3 separate regions of the Homo sapiens genome follow, and all the other regions are linked to region 3. The links are contacts of gene promoters, found by promoter capture Hi-C in human tissues and cell types (Jung and others, 2019). All regions are on one chromosome and are shown on one strand. Each heading gives the region's core, a stretch centred on a gene start or on the middle of the fragment in contact. The rest is flanking DNA. Distances are from core to core; before and after follow the strand shown. Region 1 holds the start of KLF16 (KLF transcription factor 16). Region 2 holds the start of ABHD17A (abhydrolase domain containing 17A, depalmitoylase). Region 3 holds the start of EFNA2 (ephrin A2).

Evidence for each region. The method cuts DNA at HindIII sites, captures the fragments that hold promoters and counts their contacts. A contact is called where the count stands out against the background at its distance.
Region 1: the fragment with the promoter of KLF16 here is called in contact with the fragment with the promoter of EFNA2 in region 3 in 2 of the 25 tissues and cell types used here (dorsolateral prefrontal cortex and lymphoblastoid cells).
Region 2: a contact is called between the fragment with the promoter of ABHD17A here and the fragment with the promoter of EFNA2 in region 3, in 1 of the 25 tissues and cell types used here (dorsolateral prefrontal cortex).

The regions. Positions count from the first base shown.
Region 1 is chr19:1,860,644-1,865,004 of GRCh38, forward strand. KLF16 (KLF transcription factor 16) reads right to left here and starts at 2,936. Exons shown (of 2, transcript NM_031918.4): 1 at 2,398-2,936. The coding sequence starts at 2,854. RefSeq lists an enhancer at 479-1,364, silencers at 2,179-2,348, 2,399-2,578, 2,909-4,008, 4,079-4,298 and a promoter at 2,825-4,029. The HindIII fragment of the contact is 11,768 bases long and covers 1-3,970 here.
Region 2 is chr19:1,883,493-1,888,263 of GRCh38, forward strand. ABHD17A (abhydrolase domain containing 17A, depalmitoylase) reads right to left here and starts at 2,004. Exons shown (of 5, transcript NM_001130111.2): 1 at 1,860-2,004. RefSeq lists a silencer at 1,269-1,416 and enhancers at 3,583-4,087, 4,088-4,593. The HindIII fragment of the contact is 23,112 bases long and covers 1-4,771 here.
Region 3 is chr19:1,283,239-1,287,826 of GRCh38, forward strand. It overlaps EFNA2 (ephrin A2), which reads left to right and starts at 2,635. Exons shown (of 4, transcript NM_001405.4): 1 at 2,635-3,070. The coding sequence starts at 2,931. RefSeq lists enhancers at 1-195, 1,719-2,219, 2,220-2,720. The HindIII fragment of the contact is 32,397 bases long and covers 499-4,588 here.

The sequences.
Region 1 (4,361 bases), core at 1,686-4,185, 580 kb after region 3:
GGGACAGCCCTGCAATGGGGCTCCCTCCCAAAAAAACGCATGGCCTTCCTGTCCCCCAAAACCAGCTTAACGGCAGCCATTCCCTCCCTCCTCCGGGGGCTGAAAAACCAGACCACCTTCCACTAAAAGAGGCCGTTTACACAGACCCCTTGGTGGTCCTGGGGGCTGGGGAGGCCCGGAAGAGGAGCCTGGAAAGCCACAAGTATCCAAAACCCTTTGGAAACCGAATCCAAGGTGCCTGGGCCTGGGACTGCCCTCCCAGTCCCCAAATCGTTACTGTAAAGGGGGCTTTGGAATGGGACGTCAGCAGGCTCAAGGGGTGGGGGAGGGTGCCAGGAGATCCGCCCTGCCCTCCCCCACCACACAGGGTAGACGGTGGCGCGCCATCAGCACAACTGCATCCACCCCTGGGGATGCCCGACTGGGCACCCCCAGGCCTGTTTCTTACTGCAATCCCGGGATAACAATACTGCCTTCCCAGGACTCCAAACCCATCCCTCCCCTCCCTGCTGGCTTAGGGACCGCTGCCCCAATACCCGGGGGCCTATGGAAGCGCCTCTTGGGTGCCACTCAGGGAGGTGGCCATCCCGTCCACTTAACCCAGAAACTCAGAAAACCCAAATGGAGCTCTCAGGCCACGCCATCTGGCAAGAAAAGAATGACCTGGGTAGACAGGTGGGAGTCGCTTTCCCAACAGGCTCCCACTTCAGCCCCGTCTGTTCAGATCGCCCAACTTACCCCCAAAAAGCCAGGGCACTCCTGGACCCCTGCCCACCGCCCGGAGAGGCACCTCCCTTTCTGTTCCCAACGCTGCCTCGCCATCTTCACAGACCCCCAATGTCCCTCCCCGCGGAGATACACGGACCCCATTGCCCTCAAAAAGAGGTAACACCCTGGGACCCCTCCGCCGAGGATGTGTGGCTCCTCGCAGAAAACGCAGACCCCACCCAAGTCCTGTCTTGACGCCCTCGGTTCCCGTCTGTGTCTCAAGGTGGGCAGAGCCTCCAGGCCCCTGGGACCAGGACAGGGACTGAGCGAGGGGTGAAAAGAGTGCAGAACAGAGAGGGGGCGGCCGGCAGGCTACACACCACCGCCCCCACCCGCCCTCCTGCTCTCCACCCTCAGGCGTCCCAGCGCGGCTCCCCATACCCCAAAGATGGACCCTCAATTCTTCCGCAAGGCATTCGCGGCCCCTGCTCATCTCAGCCCCACCACTCTGGACGGCCCACTTCCCTTCGGCTGCTCCACGTGTCCCTACAATCCGAGCCCACGGACCAAGCCTCCTTGGAGTGTCCAGCTGCCCAAAGCGGCCACCGCTATGGCTATGAAATAGAGGCAGCATCGCACTCTTGATAGAAATGAGAAAATTGAGACCCAGATCGGGTAGAGGTCTTCTGTTTGGTGGCAAGGCCAGAATGCCAAGCCCAAGGGCAGCCGCACAGCTTTCCCCCAGCCCCCCACCCTCCCCGGAAGGGACAAGCACCTCTAATGCCCAAACCAGGGCCGGCCATCAAGGCCCACCGTCCCCTGTTGCCCAGTCCAAACTCCCAGTCCAGAAAGTGGAACCCTAGGAGGGGACGGAGTGAAAAAATACAGCCAGGCCCACCAGGCTCCCGGTTCCCCTCGCCGCCCCGGGGACTGCGCTAGGAGGGGCGTTGGTGTAGCCGAAGCGCTCCAACTACGCGCACCTTCCCGAATCGCCCGCCAGGTAGGGGTGAACAAACACGCCAGGGAAATACAGCAGTGTGGACCCGAGCCCCTCGAGGGTCCTCCAATACTATGAAGTTCCCCCGCCCAGACTCAGGCCCCAACCCGCGCTCCTAGCCTCGCCCTCCCCCTCGTTAAAATACAGAGAACGCAGAGAAAACGTGCCGGGCTCCCCCCATCCTGGCCCCACGCCAGGTGCTCTGCCGACCTCTGGGGAGAATCCGCGCGGCCACCCCGGCGGCGGCGACGCGGTTCCTCCTCCATTTTCACAGATAAGGAAACTGAGGCTGGGGGAGGGGGAGAACCCAGAACCCCAGAGCCGGATGCTCCAACCACGGTGCCCACCGCCCAGACCAGAACGCAAAAGAAAAAAAAAAAAACGGAACAAGGCCCAGAAAGGGAGAGAGGTGGTCTGCCCAGGAGTCTCAATCCCGCCCGCAGACCTCGCTGGGCCCCCGGAGCCCCCGCCACTGCCGCCGGGGCGGCCATCCGCTCGCCGCCCGACCGCGTGGCCGCCACGCCCCCCGCGCGCGCCCCACCCACCGAGGCCCCGCCCTGCCGGCCGGCGCGGCGGCGGCCCGGGCGCGCCCCCCTCCCCGCCCCCCACGCGCCACGCAGTTTCGGGGTCCTGGCGGGGGAGGGGTCTCAGGCGGCCGCCCCCGCAAGGGCCGGGATCGCGGCTGCACTCACCTGTGTGCGTCCGCAGGTGCGACTTTAGGTGCGAGGACTTGTAGTAGGCTTTGGCGCAGTCCGGGAAGGGACAGCGGTGGCTCTTGGCGGCGGCGGAGGGCGCGGCGCCGGGGGCGCGGCCCGAGGACGGGGACGAGGCGGCTGAGGAGGAGGAGGCGGGCGAGGCGCCCCCCGGGGCGGCTCCGGGTCCGCCGCGCAGGTCGGCCAGGATGCTGGCGGCCAGCAGGTGGGGCGCCGCGGCGGCGCCGGGGCCCGGGCCAGAAGCGGCGGGGGGCGGCGGGGGTGGCCCCGGGGTCCCGGGTGAGGCGGCCTCGCGGCGCGCCGCGCGCACATCCAGGCCGGCGGCGGGGCCCGCGCCCTCGGGGCCGGGCCGCCCGCGGTGCACCACGGCGCCCGAAGAGATGGCCATGAGCACGTCGGCGGCGAAGTAATCCACGCACGCCACGGCCGCCGACATGCCGAGCAAGGGCGCGCGGCGCGGCGGGCGGAGCGGAGGCGGCGGGAGCGGCGTCCGTCCGGCCGGCGGCGGCTGCTCGAGTGCGGGAGGCGGAGGAGGAGGAGGAGGAGGCCCGGCGCGCGCCGCCGCCGACGCCCGCGCTCGGCCTGCCCCGCCCCGCCTGACGCGTCCTGACGCACCGGAGCCCGCGGGGGCGGCCACAGCCCGCCCCGCCCGGAGGACGCCCCCTCGGGGCGCCGCAGCCACGCCCCCCGCCCGGCGCGCCCTCCACCACTCTCCGAGCCGCGCGCGGCCGCCGGGGGCGGGGCTCGGGCCGGAGGAACCCGCCCCCCGGCGCGCCCACTCCGGCCTCCGCCAGCGCCTAGCGTCTTAGGCCCGGAGCGCGCCTTCTCCGCGCTAGGGTGCAAGGCCGGGAGCCCCGCCCCCTCCCGGCGCGCCCCACTCCAGCGCGCGCCCCCGTACCCTTTCCCGGAGCACCACCCCCTCAAGCCGGGGCGGGAGGCCGAGGACCCCGCCCCCTCTCCGGCACGCCCCTCCTTCCGAGAGCGCGCCCCGCCCCATCCCGGCACGCCCCTCCCTCCCAGAGCGCGCCCCGCCTCCTCGCTGGCGCGCCCACCCCACGCCGGGGCGCGCGGCCGGCGGGAGCCCGCCCCCTCCCCGGATGCTTCCCTCCTGGCCCCGGGCGCGCCCCCGTTCGCGATGGAGGAGGGCTCCGATCCCCACGTGGCCGGGGTTGGAGGGGTGCGGAAGCGGCCGGCCCCGCCCCCAGGCCACGTGCGCGACCCTTCCCCCCTCTTCTCCCGGCCTGGGGCCCTGCTTTGACCCCGCACTCAGGCATCTGCTCGTCCTCTTCTCTGGGGTTCCCCCTCGCCGCTCACAGAGCCCCTCGGAGCCTCCCGGCCGAGACACCCGGTATCCCGCGCCCGCGGCGGGGCCCGGGAGGGTGGGGCAAGGCTGCGTTCGTTCCTCTTTTTGCACCCAGTTCCGGAGCTACTAGAGCGCGCCCCACTGGGGGTGGGGAGGGCCGGTTGGGTCCCAGAGGGTCGGGATAGGGGGACGGGAAGAGGGGGCCGAACGCAAAGGGCTGGGCTGGGCTGGGGGCGCCTGAGCGGGTCAGAGGTTCCCCGCCCTGCTGGGACACCGGGGTCCGGGGCTTCTCTTTCCATTCCCAGGCATCGATTCTTGGGGTTCGGACGGGAAAACTGAGGCCAGGTATTCGGGCCTCCCGGCCGCGAGGACGTCCAGGCCAACTTGTTAAATATTAGGGGGGACACCAGGGACGCGGATGGCCCAGTTCGCAGGCCCAAGGCGGCGGGGGCACAGAAACTGGGCGGCCCCCCTCGGTCGCGACCGCGCTCCCGCCCCTTCCCAGCTCCGGCGGGGCGGCGGGGACTGCGCAGTGGCCGGAGCTGCCTCCAGGGGGCGGAGCTGCTTTGGCCTGCGGCGACCTCCTGCTCTGGGTTGGGCATGGACAGAGGCCCTGACCCGATTCGGGGCTTCTCTAGCC
Region 2 (4,771 bases), core at 754-3,253, 600 kb after region 3:
CAGCTGGGTCCTGAGAGCCCAGTGGACAGCAGCAGGCCCCTGGAGACCCCGGAGACGAAGGGGCACACCGAGGTGGCCAGGGCCCCACTATCCAGGCCAGAAACAAAGATGTTATCCTTGACACCTCCTTCCACCCACTGGATCTGAGCCGGTCCATCACCAGCCCGGTGGCTCTGCCTGTCTCCCATCAGCCACCGCCCGGTCCCTGCCTCCATCACCTTTCACCAGAGCCACAGCAACAGCCTCCCTCCTTGCTGATCACCTGCTCCAGGACATTCTCCCCCAGCAGCCAAACAATCTTTCACGACACAAATGCAATGGAGCCGCTTCCCTCTTGGGGTGTCCTGGGGGCCTCCCATTATTCCCTGGATAGAGATCAAAGCCCTCCCCACAGCCTGCCAGGTCCGCATTCCGGCTCAGGCCGACCTCTCCAGACTCACTCATCTCACACCCTGCCACTCCTGGCTCCCTCAAGACAAGCCAAATTGCCCCTTCCTGCCTCTGCTCCTCTGCCAGGAACTCCCTTCCCCAACCTCACTAGACAGCCTTGCCCAACCCAACCACCCTTTGCACCTCACTGCCAACGCTCTCAGAGTCCTCAAAGCTGGGACAGGACCCCTTACACGCTCTTTCCACAGCTTGTATTTTTCACACGTTTGGCCAGATCTCCCCCCACCTCCAAACCAGAAACTCTATGAGAGCAGGACCATGACCTGCCACTCACTAAAGGAATGGGCAGGTGGTAGGCAGCACAGAATTAAGGAGGAAGCACAGGAGGAAAAGAATCCCCAAGGTCCGCCAGCTTTGACAGGGAAGGGAAAGTCTAGTCTCCTCTCCTCTCCAGCCACAGGTACCTGGAACCTCCCTAGTGTCACTAATGGGCGTGGACTGGGGAGTGCAAACCCAGACGCCTCACTCACTGGGCACACACCCTTGACACCCTGAATCCCACCAATTCCGTTCCCACGCACTTAACTGGGCAACCCTCTGCAAGCTAGAGGTGTTCTGAGGACCAGCAAGCAACCGAGCAGCCAAAATACTGGAAGATGACCTACATATGGGAGACGGTGACTGCACCTCACTCAACCAGTCAGGGTGGGAAACCCGCCTGGGGGGAGGCGCGGCCATATCAGAGGGCAGACAAACGGGCCAGGTGACAGGGGGATGGGACAGAGGGACAAGCAGGAGCAAAATCCGAGGTGACAGAGCAGGCTCCTGGCTAGAGCAGACCCTGGGAGGAAGAAGTGAGCAGAAGGGTCCTAAGAGAGAGCCTGGGACGGGTGAGGTCGCGCCCCCGAGAGTTTGCACTTCATCCTGGGAGAAATGGCGGGGCCGCGAAGAAGTCCCGAGCAAGCGATGGACAACATAGGAGAAGGGCTGCATCCCGGAGAACGGACGCGAGCGGAGGCCGGGAAGCCCGCCCAGGAGTCAGGGTGGCAGGAAGAAGCCTGACAAGGGAAACAGCGACTGGGAGCTGGTTGGGAAGCAGGGCTCGGGAGGGCCCCTGGGAGCTGCCTTGGGGGGCGAGAGGCCGAAGCGTTTGTCGGACTGGGGGCAGTTTCGGGGCAAAAGAGCGGAATCCGCGGCTCGGACGGGTGCTCCCCGAAGGCAAGGGCCGCGTCCGCAGGAGGGTGGGAGCGCAACCCACGCCGGAGGGCTGAATGGATGGGGACAGGGCTTTCCCAATCACAGACGCTCATCCGCGGTCCGCGCCCCTGCTCTGGGCTCCTCGGGCAGGACCCGCGGAAGCCCTGGGACTGCAGGGGTCTCGGGGACGTCCAACCGGGCTGTCAGGCCCTCGAGGCCCGGCCCGGGACCCCGCGCGGCCGCGCCCGCCCCCGCCCCTGCCCGGCACTCACCACCCCGGCCCGCGCCCCCGGGCCCCAGGGCCGCGCTCCATGGCTCCCGGCCGCCCGCCCGTGCGTCCGTCGGTCCCTCCGCACCCCTGCCCGGCCTCCTGCACCGCCACCGCCGCAGCTCCCCCCACGGACGGAAGTGAGCCTCGTTCTCACCACCGCCCCGGAAGTGACGCGAGGAGCGCGCGGGGCGGGGGTCTGCAGGCACAGAGCGACCGCGCGACTAGCGTCCTGGGGGCGGGGCTGATATGTCGAGGGGCGTGGCCTGCTGCTCTGTGGGCGGGGCCAAACTTAGGTTTCATTCACTTGGGGACCCGGAATAGGTTGAGGCCAGTAAAGTTCTCGCCTGGAAAACAAAATTTACAGGGACGCCAAAAAAAACTCAGACATCAACATTTAGAAATGTTTTAAAATATTTTTCTTTATGAGATGGAGTCGCGCTCTGTCGCCCAGGCTGGAGTACAATGGCGCGATCTCAGCTCACTGCAACTTCTGCCTCCTGGGATCAAGCGATTCTCCTGCCTCAGCCTCCTGAGTAGCTGGGATTACCGGCGCCCACCACCATGCCCAGCTAATTTTTGTGTTTTCAGTAGAGACGGGGTTTCCCCATGTTGGCCAGTGTGGCCTCGAACTCCTGACCCCAGAATCCTCCTGCCTCAGCCTCCCAAAGTGTTGGGATTACAGGCATCAGCCACCGCACCTGGCCTCTTTTTTTTAACATAGAGTCTACTCTGTCACCCAGGCTGGTGCCATCATAGCTCACTGCAGCCTCGACCTCCCAGGATCAAGTGAACCTCCTACTTCAGCCTCCTGAGTAGCTAGGACTATAGGCACAAGCCACCATGACCAGCTTATTTAAAGTCTTTATATATTGCTCATCAGAAATTCTTTTGCATTAGTTTTTAAAATATTACATTAGGCCGGGCACGGTGGCTCATGCCTGTAATCCCAGCACTTTGGGAGACTGAAACAGGTAGATCACCTGAAGTCAGGAGTTTGAGACCAAGCCTGACCAACGTGGTGAAACCCTGTCTCTACTAAAAATACAAATATTAGCCGGGCATGGTGGCACGCGCCTGTAGTCCCAGCTACTCCGGAGGCTGAGGCAGGAGAATCGCTTGAACCCGGGAGGCGAAGGTTGCAGTGAGCCAAGATCGGGCCACTGTGCTCCAGCCCAAGTGACAGAGCAAGAAGACTGTCTCAGATAAATAAATAAATAAATAAATAAATAAATAAATAAATAAATAAAACTATGATCACTCCACTGCATTCCAGCCTGGGCGAGAGAGCAAGATCCTGTCTCTTAAAAAAATTTCATTATGGGCTGGGCGCGGTGGCTCACGCCTATAATCCCAGCACTTTGGGAGGCCGAGTCGGGCAGATCATGAGGTTAGGAGATCAAGACCATCCTGGCTAACACGGTGAAACCTCATCTCTACTAAAAATACAAAAAGATAGCCGGGCGTGGTGGCGGGCGCCTGTAGTCCCAGCTACTCGGGAGGCTGAGGCAGGAGAACGGCGTGAACCCAGGAGGCAGAGCTTGCAGTGAGCTGAGACCGCGCCACTGCACTCCAGACTGGGCGACAGAGCGAGACTCCGTCTCAAAAAAAAAAAAAATTGCATTATGGCAGGGCCTAGTGGCTCACGCCTGTAATCTCAGCACTTTGGGAGAACGAGGCAGGCAGATCACCTGAAGTTAGGAGTTCAGCCTGGCCAACATGGTGAAATCCTGTCTCTACTAAAAATACAAAAATTAGGCCACCCTGGCCAACATGGTGAAACCCCATCTCTACTAAAAATACAAAAATTAGCCGGCTGTTGTGGCGCGCACCTGTAATCTCAGCTACTCCACGCCACTGCACTCCAGCCTGGGCGACAGAGCAAGACTCTGCCTCAAAAAAAAAAAAAGTAAAGAAAAGAAAATGGAAGAAGGTTACTGGAGAATCTCAGAGCGTGGTCAGGGCAGGCCTTTCTAAGGAAGTGACAGGGACAGGGGCAGAAAGGGCTGCAGACACCAAAGGGGCCCAGCCTGGAAGTGTGAGTGTGAATTGGTGGGAAGCCTTGCTTTTCAGGCCTTCTCTCATATGTGCCTTCCCCCCAGCTTTCGTGCCTTTTCCAGCTCAAAATGCTCCTCCAGCCTGCAGGCAACCGCAGCCCCCGCTCCGTCCCAGGGACTCTCATCTTAGCTCCACTGTTCTGAGATAAGCCTGAGGCTCCTGGGCCAATCCTGCCCCCAGGGGCTCATTCCTCAAATTCAGGACACAGCTGCCAGGGAAGGAATCAGGCTCAAAAGACTAGAGACTTAGAGATAGCCCAGGGTTTCTTTGCCTCATTTTCTTTCCTCTTTTTTTTTTTGGTTGTTGTTGTTTTGAGACAGAGTCTTATTCTGTCACCCATGTTGGAGTGCAGTGGCGCGATCTCGGCTCACTGCAACCTCCACCTCTCAGATTCAAGCTATTCTTCTGCCTCAGCCTCCCGAGTAGCTGAGCTAACAGGCACCCGCCACTGCACCCGGCTAATTTTTGTATTTTTAGTAGAGATGGGGTTTCGCTATGTTGGCCAGGCTGGTCTCGAACTCCTGACCTCAAGTGATCTGCCAGCCTCGGCCTCCCAAAGTGCTGGGATTACAGGCGTGAACCACCGCACCTGGCTGCTTTGCCTCATTTTCTGATTTTCCGGTGTTGTTGGACCTCTGGCGCCCCTGCTCAGGACTCAGCTGCCTGGGTCTCCCTGGGGCTGTCAAGAGCTGCCCCAGCGTTCCCCTGCCTCTGCTGTCCCCCTCGAGGCTCCCAGCCTCCGCTGAGGTTCTCCTGAGGTCCAAAGGCCAAAACAAGTCCAGGCTTCTTCCTAGGTCCTTGTGAATTCTCTGAGCACCAGGGCCAGAAGAGGCCTGTCCCCAGCCTCCTTCCCCCCTC
Region 3 (4,588 bases), core at 1,385-3,884:
GGCCTGGCCATGTGGGCAGTGGGTGCTGGGCACGGGCTGGACAAGTCCCTTCCTGAGTCTGGGTAGACCCCAGTCCCAGCAGTGCAGAGCAGGGGGCGGGGCCAGACCCCATCAAGCCCTGTACTGGCTCCAGACCAGGGACTGAGGGCGACCCTGGATAACCCCTGACCTTGGCGGACACCTGTTCCCAGAGTGAGCCTGATTTCTGACCCTTGGCTCCACAGGAAGCTTACTCTAGAGTGACCTCCGGCCGCGGCTGCGTCCCAAAGCCGGGACAGCTCCCAGCCCCAGGAGGGAACAGGGCTTCTTGGACCCCCACAGTGGCCCCCCTGCCAGGCAGGGGTTTGCCGGGGCAGCCTCGCCCAGGGCCAGGCCTCGGAGACGCCCTGCCCTCCCCTCCCTTCCCCAGGTCCTTCCTCTAGGAGCGGCCAGCGGGCGCGGGGAGGTTGAATGGGGGACGCACCGCCTTTGTTCCCGTCCCTGCTTGGGCTCTGACCTTGAGAGAGACAAGAACAGAAGGAAAACGGAGCTTCTGCTCAAATCCGTTCAGCGGTGGCGGTGGTGGCGGCTCTCGCCTCGGTGGCCCCTGCATGCAAATGAGTGGCCCTGCCATGCCTGGGTGGAGGTGGTGCCCTTCCAGCTCCCACCTGTGCAGGTCCCAGTCCTGGTTTGAGAAGAGACCCCCTCCTCCCGACCCTGGCCCACCCCTCCTCACCCACGAGATCCCTTGAAGCAGGAGGGGGCTTCTGGTCCCAGGGTAGAAGGAAGCTTCCAGAACTCCCACCTTTGCCAGGTGGCATGCTGGGGCCGGGCACGCCAAGACCCCAGGCTCACGGCCCCTTGTCCTGTGCTTGGGTGCAGCCGCCACACTCTGCTCCGAAAGTGCTCACCTCCGGGAGTGGCCGTCCCCCTCCCTAAAAGAGCCCCCCACCAGACGGAGCCGCCCGGGAAGCTTCTCCAGCCTGTCTGGGCTACAGAGCCTTGTGTGGCTAGAACCCAAGGCCCTCACTCCAGGGGTGCTGAGAGAGCCTGTCCAGAGGGCCTGCCTCAGCCACCACCTGGGACAGGTTCACGCCCTCCACTGAAGAGACACCCGGCCAGCCCTGGGCCTTCGACCTGGGACGTCTGTAGTGGGGTCAGGGGATGAGACCTGGAGCTCAGAACAGACGGGCTGAGCTCCCTGGAGGAGAGAGAACTGAGAACCTTGTCCTGGCAGGGACGCTAGAGCACTGGGTGGGACAGACCTTTCTGGAAGAGCAAGATTTTAACAGGAAGAAAAAGTGGAAGGACTTCCCAGCAGGACCCAGCCTGAACAAAGGTCAGGTGGTGTGGCCCGCGTGGCCCGCTGGGGAATCGGGGGAGGAGGGCACGCAGGAGACACAGGACAGAGCCCACCACGTCTCAGAGCTGTGGGACGGTGGTGGGTCCGGTCCCCACCCCACCTTGCTGGGGCACAGGTTAGCTTGCCCATCTCTGGGTTCACGGTCCCTGCCAGGAGTTTGGGTAATGCCTCACACAGGGACCTTCGGGTCCAAGGGCTGTTGGTGCTTGCCCTGCAGTTCCCTCTCCTGCACTGGGCCTGGTGAATGACACTAATTCAGAGACGTACAACACGATCTGGGCATCGCCAGCAAAGTCCAGCCAGCGTTTGATGACAGCCTACCCTCCACAAGCTCAGAGTCTGGTGAGGGAGGCTGTGGCATGAATAAGGGCAAAAACAGAGGGCAGGCCAGGTGCAGTGGCTCACGCCTGTAATCCTAGCACTTTGGGAAGCCCAGGTGGGAAGATCGCCTGAGCCCAGGAGTTCAAGACCAGCGTGGCCAACATGGCCAGACACTGTCTCTATAGATTGGAAAAAAGACAAAGCAGAGGCCAGGCCCCCAGTTCCCCACCTGTGTCAGCCTACCAGGAGGAGAAATCACTCGGCGTTCCCTGAACAGATCAGACCCCGGGTCTTTGCACAAGCTGTGCCCCCGGGCAGCGGCCCTCCCCTGCCTGCAGGATTCGTGCGTGGAGACTGATTTGCTGTCGGCCGGGGCTTCACTCTGGGCTTCTTGGATCCCATCCCCAGCTGCTCACACTCCACATCGGTCCACCTACTATGCTCCCGGCACCCTTAGGGCTGAGGTGTAGGGACTTACTCCATCCCCAGGGAACAGCGTGGGTCCGGAGAGGCGACTCCCAGGAGGGCCCCAGGGAGGTCGCAGCCCGAGCAGCTTTGGACTTTGGCCAGCGCCCCTCTGAAACTCTGCCCCGGCCCCCGCAGGGAGACTGGAGTTGGCCGAGCCCGATTTGGGACGCGTGCGTCGGGGTTGGTGAGGCTGCGGATAGCGCTGGAACCGGGCAGGTGAGAGGCCCGGGACCCAGGGCCGGGCCGGGTGGAGCGCGTGGGGGCGCGGGAGGCAGGGTGCGCCCCCGCCCCTCGGAGACCCCAGGCCGGGCCACGCGGATGCCGGCGGGGGGCGCGCAGAATCGGGGTCGCTGGGGGCAGGCCCCGGGGGACGAGCCTGAGACGGGGTGGGCCGGGGCAGGGGGCGGGCGCAGGCTGGAGACCCCCGCCCAGTCCCCGCGCGGCCGGGGCACGGCGGGAGGGGGCGCCCGCGGCCCTCCCGACGCTCGGGCGGGACAAAGGCCGGAGCCCGGGCCCCTCCCCGGCGGGTGCGGCGGCGGCGGCCCGCGCTCCGACAGTCCGCGCGGCCGGGTCCTGCGCCCGGGGCGACCCCGGCGCCCCGCCCCGCCGCCGCCTGACTTCTCGGCGCCCGAGGTCGCGCGCGCGGAGGCGGGGGCGGCCCGGGATCTCCAAGCGCCGCCGCGCCCTCCTCCCGCCCGCCCTCCGCCCGCCCGCTCGGCGGCGGCGGCGGCGGCGGAGGAGGCGGAGAAGGCTGGCAGGCGGCGGCCGGGAGAGCGAGCGCGGCGGCCGGACCGGGGCCATGGCGCCCGCGCAGCGCCCGCTGCTCCCGCTGCTGCTCCTGCTGTTACCGCTGCCGCCGCCGCCCTTCGCGCGCGCCGAGGACGCCGCCCGCGCCAACTCGGACCGCTACGCCGTCTACTGGAACCGCAGCAACCCCAGGTGAGCGCGGCCGCGCGCGGGGGGCGCCCGGGGACCCCCCAACGCCCCCCAAGCCGCGCCCGGCCTCGCGCCCCCGGAGCTCCGGGCGCCCCCCACGCGCGCGCCGCCGCCGGGATGCGGGCGCCCGGTTCCCGCGGGAGCCCCCCAGGGAGCTCCGGCCCCCCGGAGTTTGGGGGACTCGCCCTTTTCGCGCCTGCCTTCCCCGGGGCGCCCCATTGCCCTACGGACTGTGGGGACTCGCGCCCCACATCCCCCAGAGCGCCGACGTCTCCTGGAGTTTGGGGAACCCCTCTGGTACCCTCCGATGCCGGGTAGCCCCTGAGTTGCCTGCCTGGACTTGGGGGGACCCCTGATCCACCCGCTTCTCTGGGGAGCCCCCTCGGTTTCGCATTTGGTGGGGATCCCCGGGGACCTTGGCACCGGAGGTGGGGGACTGTGGCCCTCGAGGGATCTCTGGGTTCGTCCTGCCCGCAGGTCCCCAGATGAACTTGGGGAAGTTGGAGTGTCCCTCCCTCAGGACCCAGCATCTGCTTCACTCCAGGGGGCCAAGGGCCCAGCTTTGAAAGGAGACTGAGGGGCCGGGGAGCTGGGGGTCAGCCCCGGGAGGGGCAGTGGGATGGAGTCCTCTCTTGTCCTCTGGGCGCTGACCAGGAAACTGAGGTGCAGAGGGGATGAGGAGCTGGCTCAAGGTCATGCAAGGGGGGGACTTGGGGGCAGGACCCAGGTGGCCCAGTGCCCTGCCTGCCACGCCCGGCCGAGATGCCGCACCCGCCTGCTGCAGGCCCCCTTGTTTTGAACCAGGTCCGGGCCAGGCACAACGTGGGGGACAGGAGAAGCCCCCGTTGGTCAGAGCAAAAAAAGTTTGCCGGGGCCTGGCCATGGCCTGGACGTGGGTAGAACCCTCTGAACCATCCCAGGGTCTCCAAGACAGGAGCAGGCTGCAGCTTCCCTGGGGGTCCCGTGGGAGCCGGGGCTTTGGGGGTCCTGGGGCTCGGGAGGGAGTCAGCCCCAGCACTCAGGGTGTCACCGTCTTCCTAAGGCACACGGAGCTGCACATCGGGGGCTGAGGCGGCCCCCCCCCACTCTTCTGCTACTGGTCACTTTCTCTCCGTTTTCCAGCCGCTTCCTGTGCCGACCGAGCCGCCCTCTGGAGCCCGCCACCCCTCCTTGTCCCCTCTGTCTCCTGCTGTCCTCGGTCCCCGGGAGGAAAGTTGCATGAAGGGGTCTCTTTGAGGCGGGCTCGGGGACAAGGGCGGCCCGTGTTCCGCCGTGGGGGTGGGGAACACGCACAGGCCCACCCCCCACCCTGGTCAACGGCCTCGGGTCGGGCCCTGGGGGCTGAGGGCAGGGACCCCGGGCCGCTGGGGGACGGCTGGCCCACCTCAGAGCGGGTCCCCGAGCCGCCCGCTGTGCTGGTCACATGTGGGTTTGATTAAGGCTGTCGCTGGCCGTGCGGGGAGTCCAGCGGGCAGCGCTTCCCCGGCCCAAGTTTTTGGTTTCAGCTGCGGAATCTCCCGT